Regions from separate parts of the Homo sapiens genome. Here regions 1, 3 and 4 are each linked to region 2. Evidence: promoter capture Hi-C in 16 types of primary human blood cells and fetal thymus (Javierre and others, 2016). All regions are on one chromosome and are shown on one strand. Each heading gives the region's core, a stretch centred on a gene start or on the middle of the fragment in contact. The rest is flanking DNA. Distances are from core to core; before and after follow the strand shown.

Region 1 (2,700 bases), core at 21-2,520, 1.5 Mb after region 2:
CTAAAATTCCTTCGATTATCCTCCAAAATATCCTTTATAGCTTCTGTTTTTCCAATCCAAGATCCACTCAAGATTCACTCAGAGCATTTGAGTGTCTCTTTAAAGAGTCCAGGTAGGATGTCCTCCATCATACCTCACATTCTAGAATTGCCTCTTTCCTCGCTATGATAGTTAGATCAAACATTTCCAGCAAGAACATCACATAAATGACGTTGTGTACCTTCCTCTTGATCATACTGAAGGCACATCATCAAGCAAAACCACTATTGGCATTGCCAAGCTTGACCACTTGGTTAAAGTGATGACCACCAGACTTTTCCATTGAGAAAGCACATTTTTTCTCTTTAAAAGTAGTCTGTAGAGTGATATTTTGAGACTTATTTTCAACATTTTACCCAGTCATATTAGCATCCTCTGATGATCCTTACCTGAGCCAATTATTACTTTGGGTGTTAAAAAGTATTGCTTTTCTAATTATTTTATTCCTTCTACATTTAGTAGCTGGCATTCTTCTGTTTTAAAAAAAACACACTGGGAATTCTTTTTTCTCCTCTCCTTTTATTTTACTTTGAATATTACCATGAATTTATGGATTTTTTTTTCTTAACTCAATGTACTATAAACTATTACCAAATTTTTTTTATGTTTAAATTATCCCAGACTTGGCCAGTGGGTGTCCCTTCAAGTTGCTTCCTGTGTCCTTATGAAATGTCCCCATCATTCTCTGATCACTTTCTTACTTTCTGGTTGTATTAATCCATTTTCATACTGATATGAAGAAATACCCGAGACTGGGTAATTTATAAAGAAAAAAGAGGTTTAATGGACTCAAGTGCCACATGGCTGGTGTGGCCTCACAATCATGGTGGAAGGCAAAGGAGGAGCAAAGGTATGTCTTACATGGCAGCAGGCAAGAGAGCATGTGCAGGAGAACCGCCCTTTATACAACCATCAGATCTTGTAAGTCTTATTCACTACCATGAGAACAGCAGGGAAAAAAAACCCTTCTCCATGATTCATTTGCCTCCCACTGGGTCCCTCTCACAACATGTGGGGATTATGGGAGCTACAATTCAAGATGAGATTTGGGTGGGGACATAGCCAAACCATATCACTGGTATAGCAAGATATCTATATCTAGGCTCACATTGTGCTTGTACTTTCACTGAAATCAGTAGTTTCTCCAAAGAAACCTGATTAGTTTAAGTAAGAAATGATGCATAGAAACAAATATCTTGGTGTTAGGTATGTATGCTACTACAGGGTCATTACTCCTATATCCAGTCAATCAATGAACAGAGATAGAAATACATACACACACACTCACACACACACACACACACACACACACGCATGCACGTATTTTAATCATGAGTTCAGAGGTCTTCTATGATTGAGTAGCTTGTAGTAGAGATGAATATTTTAACAAGAAAAAGTAGAAAAGGCAGGTTTTTATAAACATTTTTTGAGAAGAAATAAGAAGGCTACTAAGGTAGCCAGGACTTGAGAAACTAGATCCAGAAAGAAGGGAGCTCATTAAGGTGAGCTTACTTCATGGACACTTATTTTCCTCCTTGATGTTTTTGGCATGGAGAATGAGATAAAGAATTTAGCAGAGCAGTTTTAGGTCACCTCTTGGGGCTGGGGAGATTAAAAGTGTTCAGTGGACAATGCAGCTAGGTGTTGAGAGACCAAGCTCTCAGAGAGATAGAAGGGACAGAGAATAGAACCTAGCGCTTGGAACCAGTGTTCTTCTAGAGGCATTTACAGTTTAAACTGTGCAGAAAATTAGGGTAAGAAGCCAATCAGAAAGCATCAACAAAGTAGAGCAAGCAAGCAGGCTCACAATGTTCGAGGGTGAAAAATTGGAGTTCATGACCTTATAAGTAGGAGGAGTTCCAACAAACAACCCTGATTCTTAGTTGGAACTCCTAGAGAGCTACGCCCTAGAAGTGGGAGTAAACCAGAAGCAAACTGGGACATACAAAGACCGCAAATTAGCTTTCAGTTAGCAAAGCCCCAAGTTGAATTACATTTATCTAATTCTCTGCTGCCTGACAGAGGAAAAGGCAATATCCTCTGAAGGAAGATAACATGATCTGGAGTCTCTATATGTTTCATACACAATGTTGGGCATTCAGTCAAAACCATTTTTTATATGACAAAGAGTTGTATTCTTTTAAACTCTGAAGAAACAATAAGAGAAACATAAGCACTTTCATTTTTTAAAACAATCTTCTTTTCAGGTATTAAAGCTTTTCAGAGTTTAAATCAAAACTTCAATCTCATTCTGAATTCAAATCTTCTCTTCAATCTCAGTTTAGGCCTCATCTCTTGGGTCAGAAATAGGCAGGGAGGAGGAGGGTCTAATCCTTCACGTTCTTGATCTATTCAGTAAAAATTACTGACATACAAATAAATAGGAGCAAGAGAAAAAGAGAGAGGCTAGAAACAGAAACAGGTAATATTGGAGTTATCAGACCAAGACTTTAAAATAATTGTGATGAACAGGTTCCACAGAATTGGAATCTACAATAAAAAGCCAAATGGAAGTCTGGAACAGGAAATAAAATAGCTAAAATTAAGAGCTCAACAGATGGATTTAACAGCAGATTGGGCAAAGTTGAAAATGGAATTAGTGCACTAGATAGTATCTAGAATGAAGTGTAGAAGTAAAAAGCATTGATATTGCTGAAAAGG
Region 2 (2,700 bases), core at 1-2,500:
AGCTCCCGTCATCCCTTTCACGAAGAACGTACGTGGGCGCGCAATCACGCATGTATGCACACCACGCACGTACGCGGGAGGCACGTACTCAGCCATGCATATAGACAGCAAACATTATGAATCTCGCATTCTCGAAGACACGCACTGACGACATCACGCACGTACGCACGCCCTGGCTGCTAGGAGACGCTATTCTCTTTACCTGGCCCTGATGCGCGCCAGCCAACCAGGCCAAGGCCAGGGGACCTCGAGACCGGCAGCCTCGACGAAGAACCGGAAGGAGGAAAAGGAACGGGAGGGAGGAAGAGTAAGTGGAAGGGTGGGACGAGGACACCAGGCAGGAGTTTTGGGCCCAGAGCTGCTATACCAGCAGGGAGGAGCTGGGAGAAACCGCTGGGGAGGGGGTGGAGGCGGGGCTGAGAGGAGGAGGGCGGAGCTGGGGGAGGGGCCGAGCGGGACTGACAGAAACAATTGGGGGCTGGGTTGAGGGCGGGGCTGAGATAAGAGGCGGGGTGTGGGGCAGGGCCGGGCGGGGCTGAGAGAAACCATTGTGGGCAGGGCCGTGGGAGAGCTGAGCGAGGAGAAGCTGCAGGAAGAGCTCGCGGACTCTTGAGAATCAGCAGGGGGAGGCAGGTGTCCGCTGAGAGAAGGAGGGAGGGGGAGAAAGAAATCACTGGGAGGGGCTGGGGGCGGGGTTTTTAAAGCAGCTGCGTGAGAAGTAGGGCGGGGCTGGGAGAGGCGGGGCTCTGGGGGGGCTGAGAATGCTGGGGAAGGTTTGGGGGCGGGGCTTTGGAGGCAGCCACAGGAGAAGCAGGTCGGGGCTGCGGGCGGGGCTCGGGGTGGGGCGGGGCTGAGAGAAACTGCTGGGGAGGGGGCCGAGGGCGGGGCTTTGGGAGCAGCCGCGGGAGAAGCGGGGCGGGGCAGGGAGGGGAGGGGCGGGGCAGGGAGGGGCGGGGCTGAGAGAAACTGCTGGCTGAGGTCGGGGCTTTGGAAGCAGCCCCGCGAAGAGCAGGGCGGGGCAATGGGAGAACTGAGCGAGGAGCAGCTGCGGGAGGACCCCTCGGACTCCTGAGAACCAGCTTAGGGGAGCGGGGGCTTGGGGAGGTGTAGGGTGGAATCACGAGAAAGCTCTGTGGGAGGGCCTGGTGCACAGCTCAGCTGCAGCGTGGAGCTGAGGGAAAGCCGGGCGTTCCTGGAGGAGGAGCAGGGCGGGGCTGTGGCAAAGAGGTGTGGGAGCAGATGGGGCGGGGCTGCGGGAAATTGCTGGAGAAGGGGGAGCCAAGCTGGAGTAAGGCTGGCGGGTGAGAATGGTGGGGGAGGAGCTAGTGCAGAGCTGGAGGAAAGAGCTGAAAGGTGCTGGGGTGGGCAGAGGGGTAGGAGAAGCGGGACGGGGCTAGAGGAGGCGGAGCTGGGACTGGAGATGCAGGGTGAGCAGGGTGGGGCTGCAGCAGGAACTGGGTTAGAGCTTCTGGAGGAGCCGCCTGCAAGAGGAGGGCGTAGTTGTGGGAAAGAGCTGTGGGTGGAACTGGTTAAGTGCTGGGAGGAGGAAGAGCTGGGGGCGGAACAGCTGGGGCGGAGCTGCCGGAGGAGGAGCTGGGGGTGGAGATGCTGGTGAAATGAAGCAGAGCCGAACTGGGGGTGGAGCTGTGGGTGGAGCTGGGGGAGGGAGCTGAGGCCCTTCTGTGATGCACCCTTAGGCAAGAGTCAAAACTTGCCCGCAGCGACCTAACTGCACCTCCAGTGTCTACCCCCATAGGGCACGGAAGCAGCAAGAAGGGCGGGAACACTTGACTGGGGTCTATGCAGCTCTAGGCTGAGTCTTGCAGGGCTGAGCCCCCCAGGCCTGCTCTCCTGTGTCCTAGCCGCTCTGTCAGTGCCTGCCAGTGGGGTCCGGAGGAACCGTCTCTTTAACGTCTCTTTTGCAGGTGATGAGAAACATCCCCACTCTTAATGTCTTGCCTCCTCCGACCTAAGTCGCCCAGCACACAGCCCAACTTCCCTGGCAAACTTGCTTTTCAAACTCTCTTCTCTCAGTCACGGGCTCAGGTTCTGTAGTGCTGCCATGCTTTACTCCTCTGTCCCTCCCCTTATCTAGTCTCCCGCATTGACTTCATAACCAAGTTCTGGGTCCCTGCCTCTGGAGTGCCTGATGAGACAAAACGGCTCCTCGTCCTGCATCCCCGCTGCTACTTCCAGAATTCAGGCCTCGTGGTCTGGAGCCTGCACTGTTCCATGAGCCTCCTGAGCAACCTGGAGTCCTCTGTCTTTCTTCCCTCAGGTCTGTCGTCCACATTCCATCGGCTCAGTTTCTAAGTCACAAATCTGTCCCCAGCAATCCTCTAGTGAAAACGCTGCTGGGCCTTCTCAGGTTTAAGTCCTAGCAGTTCAGGGAGTCGGCTCAGCTCTCCCCACCCTTAAGCCAAACACTCTTTGGGTTCACGCTGTGCTGTTCAGTCACTGGTCCCCACCAGCCTGCTGTTCCAGGTCTCCCTGCTTTGCACCGGCGGTTCCCATGGCCTTGTCCTGGTGCGCTCCTGGCCTCCTTCAAGGCACAACTTTAAAGTCACCTTCACAGCCCCACTCCGAGTATTAGAGACTTTCGTCTCCAGCTCTGATAGCATTTTGTACCTCCCCCGTCCCCACCCCACGTTAGGCTCTTGCAACCCAGGGTGGTAATTGCTCTGTAAGACTTGTGGCTGC
Region 3 (2,700 bases), core at 188-2,687, 1.2 Mb after region 2:
ACAGGAGTATGCAAGTGCCCCTGACTCACCTGCTTCTGCAGAAAAGCTATGGGGTATCTGGTCCTTCCAAAGACACCAGGGCTCCAGGTAACCACTCCCTGGTATTAGGAAAAGTAAGCACATAAGATTTACATGGCAATTACATTTGTCAAGGTGCAGGCCATCCATGTTTTCCCTATCTTCCTGAAAACACATATTCCAGTGAGGTACACAGAAGAGGTTTTTGCCCTCCATGCAAAATGGGGTTGCTGTGTATCCCTCTAGAAAATCAAATGAGATAACATACACTTAGAATAGTATCTGGGGTGTAGTTAGTTATCACTCAATGACCATCATTGTTATTTCTGAAGAAAATCAGGTCACATTTTCTGCCACTAAACTTTCAGCCAGCGGTTTTCTTCTAGCTGGCTGAGATGCATTTTGCTGGACTGAGATTTCCATGGATCTGGTGCAAAATTCTAAAAGATGGGGACTGCTTGCCCTTCCTTGCTAGTTCTACTCCACATCATTTCTGCTACAGTGGAACCCACTTTGATTTGGCTTCTGAGTTGATTATTGGTACACAGGCCTTCCCTCTGATAGTTAAAAACATTTGACTGCTGCTTCTGCTTGGACACTGTTGCTATGCTTGGGATTTTTACCCCCAATGGATCTGACCATTCTAGCAAAGTGCAGCCAGTGACAATAAGTAGAACAGAAGGCAAGAGTGATGTATTTTAGAGTATAAATGGGGCCCAAGCCACAGATTTATCATACACGTGTGTCCCTTTTTGCATGTTTTTGGGTTTTTGTGTTATCTTAGTGTTACAAGATGACTGATTTCTTGTGTTCAAAGACTTTACATATGAAATGGGTCATTCCGATGACCCAGCCCAGAGACTCTAGTGATGAATTTGAGCAAGAATGGTCACTGATCTTCCTGAGACGGGCCCCCAAAGGTTAGGGTTTACATTAGACTTCCTGGAATTCTCTGAGAGCCCAGTAAGATTATCACTCATTATATGATCTAAGCCAATCGACAGCCCAAAGCTTCCCATCATCAAGGCCACCTTTATAAAGAACTCTCCTCACTGGGGACTACACATTTTGAAATATTTTGCTATATCAAACAGCATTTATTTATTTGAATAGCCTTCTTTACCACCTGCATTTATGAGGGAGTAATTAAATAAATTTTCCCTTTTAAAGAATTAATTGAAAGGATTGGGTAACTCCCAATTAGTTTCTTGTCAGCATGAGATGCCCTCAAGTTTCTGCAAAATAGAGGTGATACTAGTCATAACCTCAGGGTTGTTATGAGGAGTAAAGGAAGTGGAACAGTGGCTGGCATACAGAAAGTGTTCAGTCAGGGTTAGCTATCATGGCTGTGAAGGTGAGGTTAAAGGATTGATGGACCTGACAGAATCCTTAGCCCAAAGTCAAAGCACTTGTGACTTTGTCTGCCTGCCCGGTCTGAAAGGGAGCGTATGTAAATTCTCTGTCTGGTTGGGAGGATTATTGTTTGTTTCACATTGAGAAAAACTTGTGGACCTCTATTATGCCCTCTAGACCTCTAGGTGTCCAGGGAATGACCTAGGCTCCTTCTCAAGCCAGTCTTTTCAGGCTCTACAATTTGAGGTTAAAAATACAATTAGTATTTTTGTTCCCTAAGACACAGAAGACAACTGCCTTTAATTTGTTCTAAAGTGCTTTCTTTCAGTTTCAGGATGTGTACAAGGCATACTGGGAAGGAAGTTTTTCTTTCACTTTAGCAACCCAGGACTTAATGAGTAAAGCCAGCATGACCTATTTATAACTTGCAAAGGCGGCGGGGTAGTATGTAGGGTAATTAGAGACATAAGCTTTGAGTCATGCAGACGTGGCTTCTCTCCCTGACCCTGTCACTCACTGGCTCTGTGACTTTGGTCAAGTCCCTTTCACTCTCTGAGACTGTTTCGTCACCTACGAAGTGTAGGTTATATTAATACCTATCTCATACGAATGTACAACAGGTAGAGGACACACATAGAAGGGGGAGAGAGAGGTATCCGTGCCATCCTTGTTTTCTTTCTGCTCATTAGCATACCCAGGATCATTTCCCCTCTCAGCCTTTCCCATTCCAGGTTAACAAATCCAAACCTCTACAATGTGTCTAGTCAAAAGACAAAAGGTAGGATGGCATTTTGGTTAACATGAGTCTCATTTCATCTGAGAAAAGGAAGGTAAGCTGGGAACAGATTAAAGCAAACTAGCTATGAGACAGGCAGGCTGGTTGGTTCCCTGTTTTAATATGGTCTGGAGTAAAAGAATGCAAGTTCCTTACTCAAGCTGTAGCTTACCTAACTCTCAACCAATCAGTAATAAAAGACCCAAGAAGCTGTTAACCACAAATTCCTGCTTCGGGGGCTAGGGACTTCCCCAGGGCCCTGCATGTGCAGTTAGAGTTAAACTTCGAACTACAGTTACCCCTTCCTTATTTTAATGTTAAAAATCATGCCCAGAGGTGGAGATGTAAAATGCTAATTCTACATATGATGTATGAAAAAGCATGTTGAGCCAATGCACAAGCACTAGAAAAATCCCTCCTACTCCTATACATGCTCGAATGTAATACTTTCCTGTAGAAAACTCCTGTAAACCTAACTCACAGACTACCCTCGATAAGCAACCCATTTCTTTTCCCTTCTTGGTGCTGACTCCCCTGTGCACAAGCGGAATAAA
Region 4 (2,700 bases), core at 182-2,681, 1.2 Mb before region 2:
TTGTGTAATAGTCTTAATTAACAGGCCAATCTTCAGGATGACTCGGTATTAAATCAGGCATTTATTAATTTAGCTGCCACACAATTCAGTATAATAGCTATCTACTCTTTCAGCTGGGACAATGCTTGCCAAACTTGCCATTTCACATACCACCTCAACAAGTTTGGCTTGCTGTATCTGCCAACTGCCCATACTAATTTTGTATTTATCTTTATATTGATTTAAAATCCATTCCTTTTTAATACTTTGCCTGCTCTAAGCCATAACATCTACTAAATCACAAGCCTGATGTGCTGATTTTTCTAATACACAAGAAAATAATTACATAGCTACTAAAATACGTCCATGGACATACCATCTAAACTCATGTCACGTGATACCAGCGATATTCTTACTGTACTTTAGATGAGCTGACCCTGGGCTGACTGACAATTTATGATATGAGTAAATAATAAAATAATTATTCTCCAATATCTGAGTTGCTAATTATTCAGATTCTTAGTAATATACCAGAAATGCAGGGTCCCATCACCAATTTCAACAGACAGAAACTCAGGAAGCCTAGGTTTTCAGATTTTATCATGCATAAGAAATATATGAGACACTTGTTTCCCTCCCTCAGACACTCTGATTCAGTAAATCTGGGATGGAGCCCGGGAAGCTGCATTTTTACAGGTGCTCCAGAGAATGCTGTCTTGGGAAGACCCAAGGGTCACATTTTGAAAAACAGTGGATGAGGCTGGGTATGGTGGCTCACACCTCTAATCCCAGCATTTTGGGAGGCCGAGATGGGAGGATCGCTCGAGCCCAGGAGTTCAAGACCAGCCTGGGAAACGTAGTAAGACCCCATCTCTATAAAAAAAAAAAAAAGAAAGAAAGAAGAAGAAGAAAAAGAAGAAAAAAAAAGATCGAAAAGCAGTGGATGGGAATGGGGGTGGGACAAAATCTTAAAATCACTCTAGCTTTTCAATAGGATGACTTGAGTTCAAATCCCAAGTCTAACTGTATGACCCTAAGCAAGTCATTTCATCTCTCTAGGCCTCGGTTTCCTCATCCATTAAATGATGATTGTAGTAATAGCTACCTCAATGGACTTTTTTAAAGAAGCAAGATCTCTCTATGTTGTCTAGGCTAGAGTGCATTGGCTTTTCACAAGTGTGACCACAGCACACTGCAGCCTTGAACTCCTGGACTCAAGTGATCCTCCCATCTTAGCCTTCCAAGTAGCTGAGACTACAGACCACCACACCCAGATTCACTAGGTTGTTTTAAGGCTTAAATGGATGACATGTCAAAAAGCATTACAAAACCCCAGAGCCTGTATGTGTTAGAGGGTTGATGATGATGATGATGATGATGACATAGAACCATTCTCGACAGCCTGTTACAACTCAGAAGACAATCAGCATTTCAAATAAGATGCCAAGCATTCTGCTCCACATAAACATCTGCTCCCATTTAATTACTGATGTTGAGTTTAATCTATAATAAATTAGCCCCCAAATTAAGTGTGTATTTCAAATAAGACATTTACACAACAGATAATTTCAAATATCAGCTGATGACTGCAACTTAAATCCTCAAGGAACTTTATCTGGCTCTTCAGGGTCAACCCCATGCAATAGCTCCCATGCCAGAGGGGTCCCAAAGGCCCATTTTGGTTACCCTGATTTTAAGAACTACTTTATAGGGAACATGTACAATTATCCTTGTGGTTTAGAAATATTTTATGTATTTATTATGTAAAAAAAAAAACTCTCCTTGAAGAAAGTGTAACAACCCCTGAGTTATAAATTTAACACCAACTTTTCAGATTTGGCTGCAGGGCAAATATAACAAAGACAATTATAAAACATGCCCCCTTACAATAATTCATCAAAGACTTTAGCTATGATCTGATGTAGGAACTTAAAATTTAATTTCCAAAAGAAAGAAAGCCTTATTTTTTCTGAATACCATCTGTTCAACCATTCCAACATGAGCTAATTCAGCTACACAAAATTTGTAAATAGACTGAGATTGAAAAAACTTAGTTGCTTCATGTTAAAGTACAGATTCAGTCTGATCTATTCATGCAATGTTAGAAAGCTATGCACACAGTCGACATTCAATCTTTTATAGGACACACACAACACTAACAACTATTCAACCTTAATGAAAACATTACAGTTAACTCATAATTGTCCATAAAGAAAATCACCCCGAAGTGTGAGAGCTATTCTCTGCTAAAATGGGTTCTTAAGTCTCTCTACTCAGCGGGCAGTTTCTCAGCTAAGGTGCAGGCAATAGGGCAACTGGAACTGATGCGATCCGCAGCTGCTCAGTGACCAGCCATTCACGCATCAGTGATGCAGCAAATGCTTCTCCCACCTGGAGACAGTGTGTTTGCCCGACCAGGTTTTAAGGTCCAGGAGCCCCAGCTGCTCTTTTATGGGCAAACATGAACACCACATAGCAGGAAAAATGATTAAGAAATACACTGTCACTCTTCTAGCTGGGCAGATTATCCAATTTCTGCTAATCCACAGCTATGCCTTCCTTTGGTAGGCATAATCAACAGCATCTGCCAGTTTGGATGAGGCAAGAGACAGCACCATAGCCAAATCTCAATTAATTGGCCTCCTGAGCCTGTTTCTGCACTTGTTATTACCCTATGAGCTCTAAAGAGGAACTGAAGATAAAGCTCCTAAACAAGGAGTA

Evidence for each region. The method cuts DNA at HindIII sites, captures the fragments that hold promoters and counts their contacts. A CHiCAGO score of 5 or more calls a contact.
Region 1: a fragment that was not itself captured here is called in contact with the fragment with the promoter of EOLA1-DT in region 2 in 1 of 17 cell types (M0 macrophages); the score reaches 6.1 in M0 macrophages.
Region 3: a fragment that was not itself captured here is called in contact with the fragment with the promoter of EOLA1-DT in region 2 in 1 of 17 cell types (M2 macrophages); the score reaches 7.2 in M2 macrophages.
Region 4: a contact is called between a fragment that was not itself captured here and the fragment with the promoter of EOLA1-DT in region 2, in 1 of 17 cell types (M0 macrophages). The highest score is 8.8, in M0 macrophages.

The regions. Positions count from the first base shown.
Region 1 is chrX:148,046,618-148,049,317 of GRCh38, reverse strand. No RefSeq gene overlaps it. Among named protein-coding and RNA genes, the nearest start is that of FMR1NB, 67 kb to the right of the region's middle. The HindIII fragment of the contact is 1,975 bases long and covers 283-2,257 here.
Region 2 is chrX:149,538,302-149,541,001 of GRCh38, reverse strand. EOLA1-DT (EOLA1 divergent transcript) reads left to right here and starts at 1,250. Exons shown (of 10, transcript NR_027455.5): 1 at 1,250-1,301; 2 at 2,096-2,278. It also overlaps a transcript of EOLA1 not described here. RefSeq lists silencers at 397-587, 620-689, 700-1,009, 1,760-1,839. The HindIII fragment of the contact is 11,440 bases long and covers 1-2,700 here.
Region 3 is chrX:148,380,473-148,383,172 of GRCh38, reverse strand. No RefSeq gene overlaps it. Among named protein-coding and RNA genes, the nearest start is that of AFF2, 120 kb to the left of the region's middle. RefSeq lists an enhancer at 1,622-1,711. The HindIII fragment of the contact is 812 bases long and covers 1,032-1,843 here.
Region 4 is chrX:150,700,259-150,702,958 of GRCh38, reverse strand. The region is part of intron 2 of MTMR1 (myotubularin related protein 1); the gene reads right to left. Among named protein-coding and RNA genes, the nearest start is that of MTMR1, 8.2 kb to the right of the region's middle. The HindIII fragment of the contact is 4,353 bases long and covers 1-2,700 here.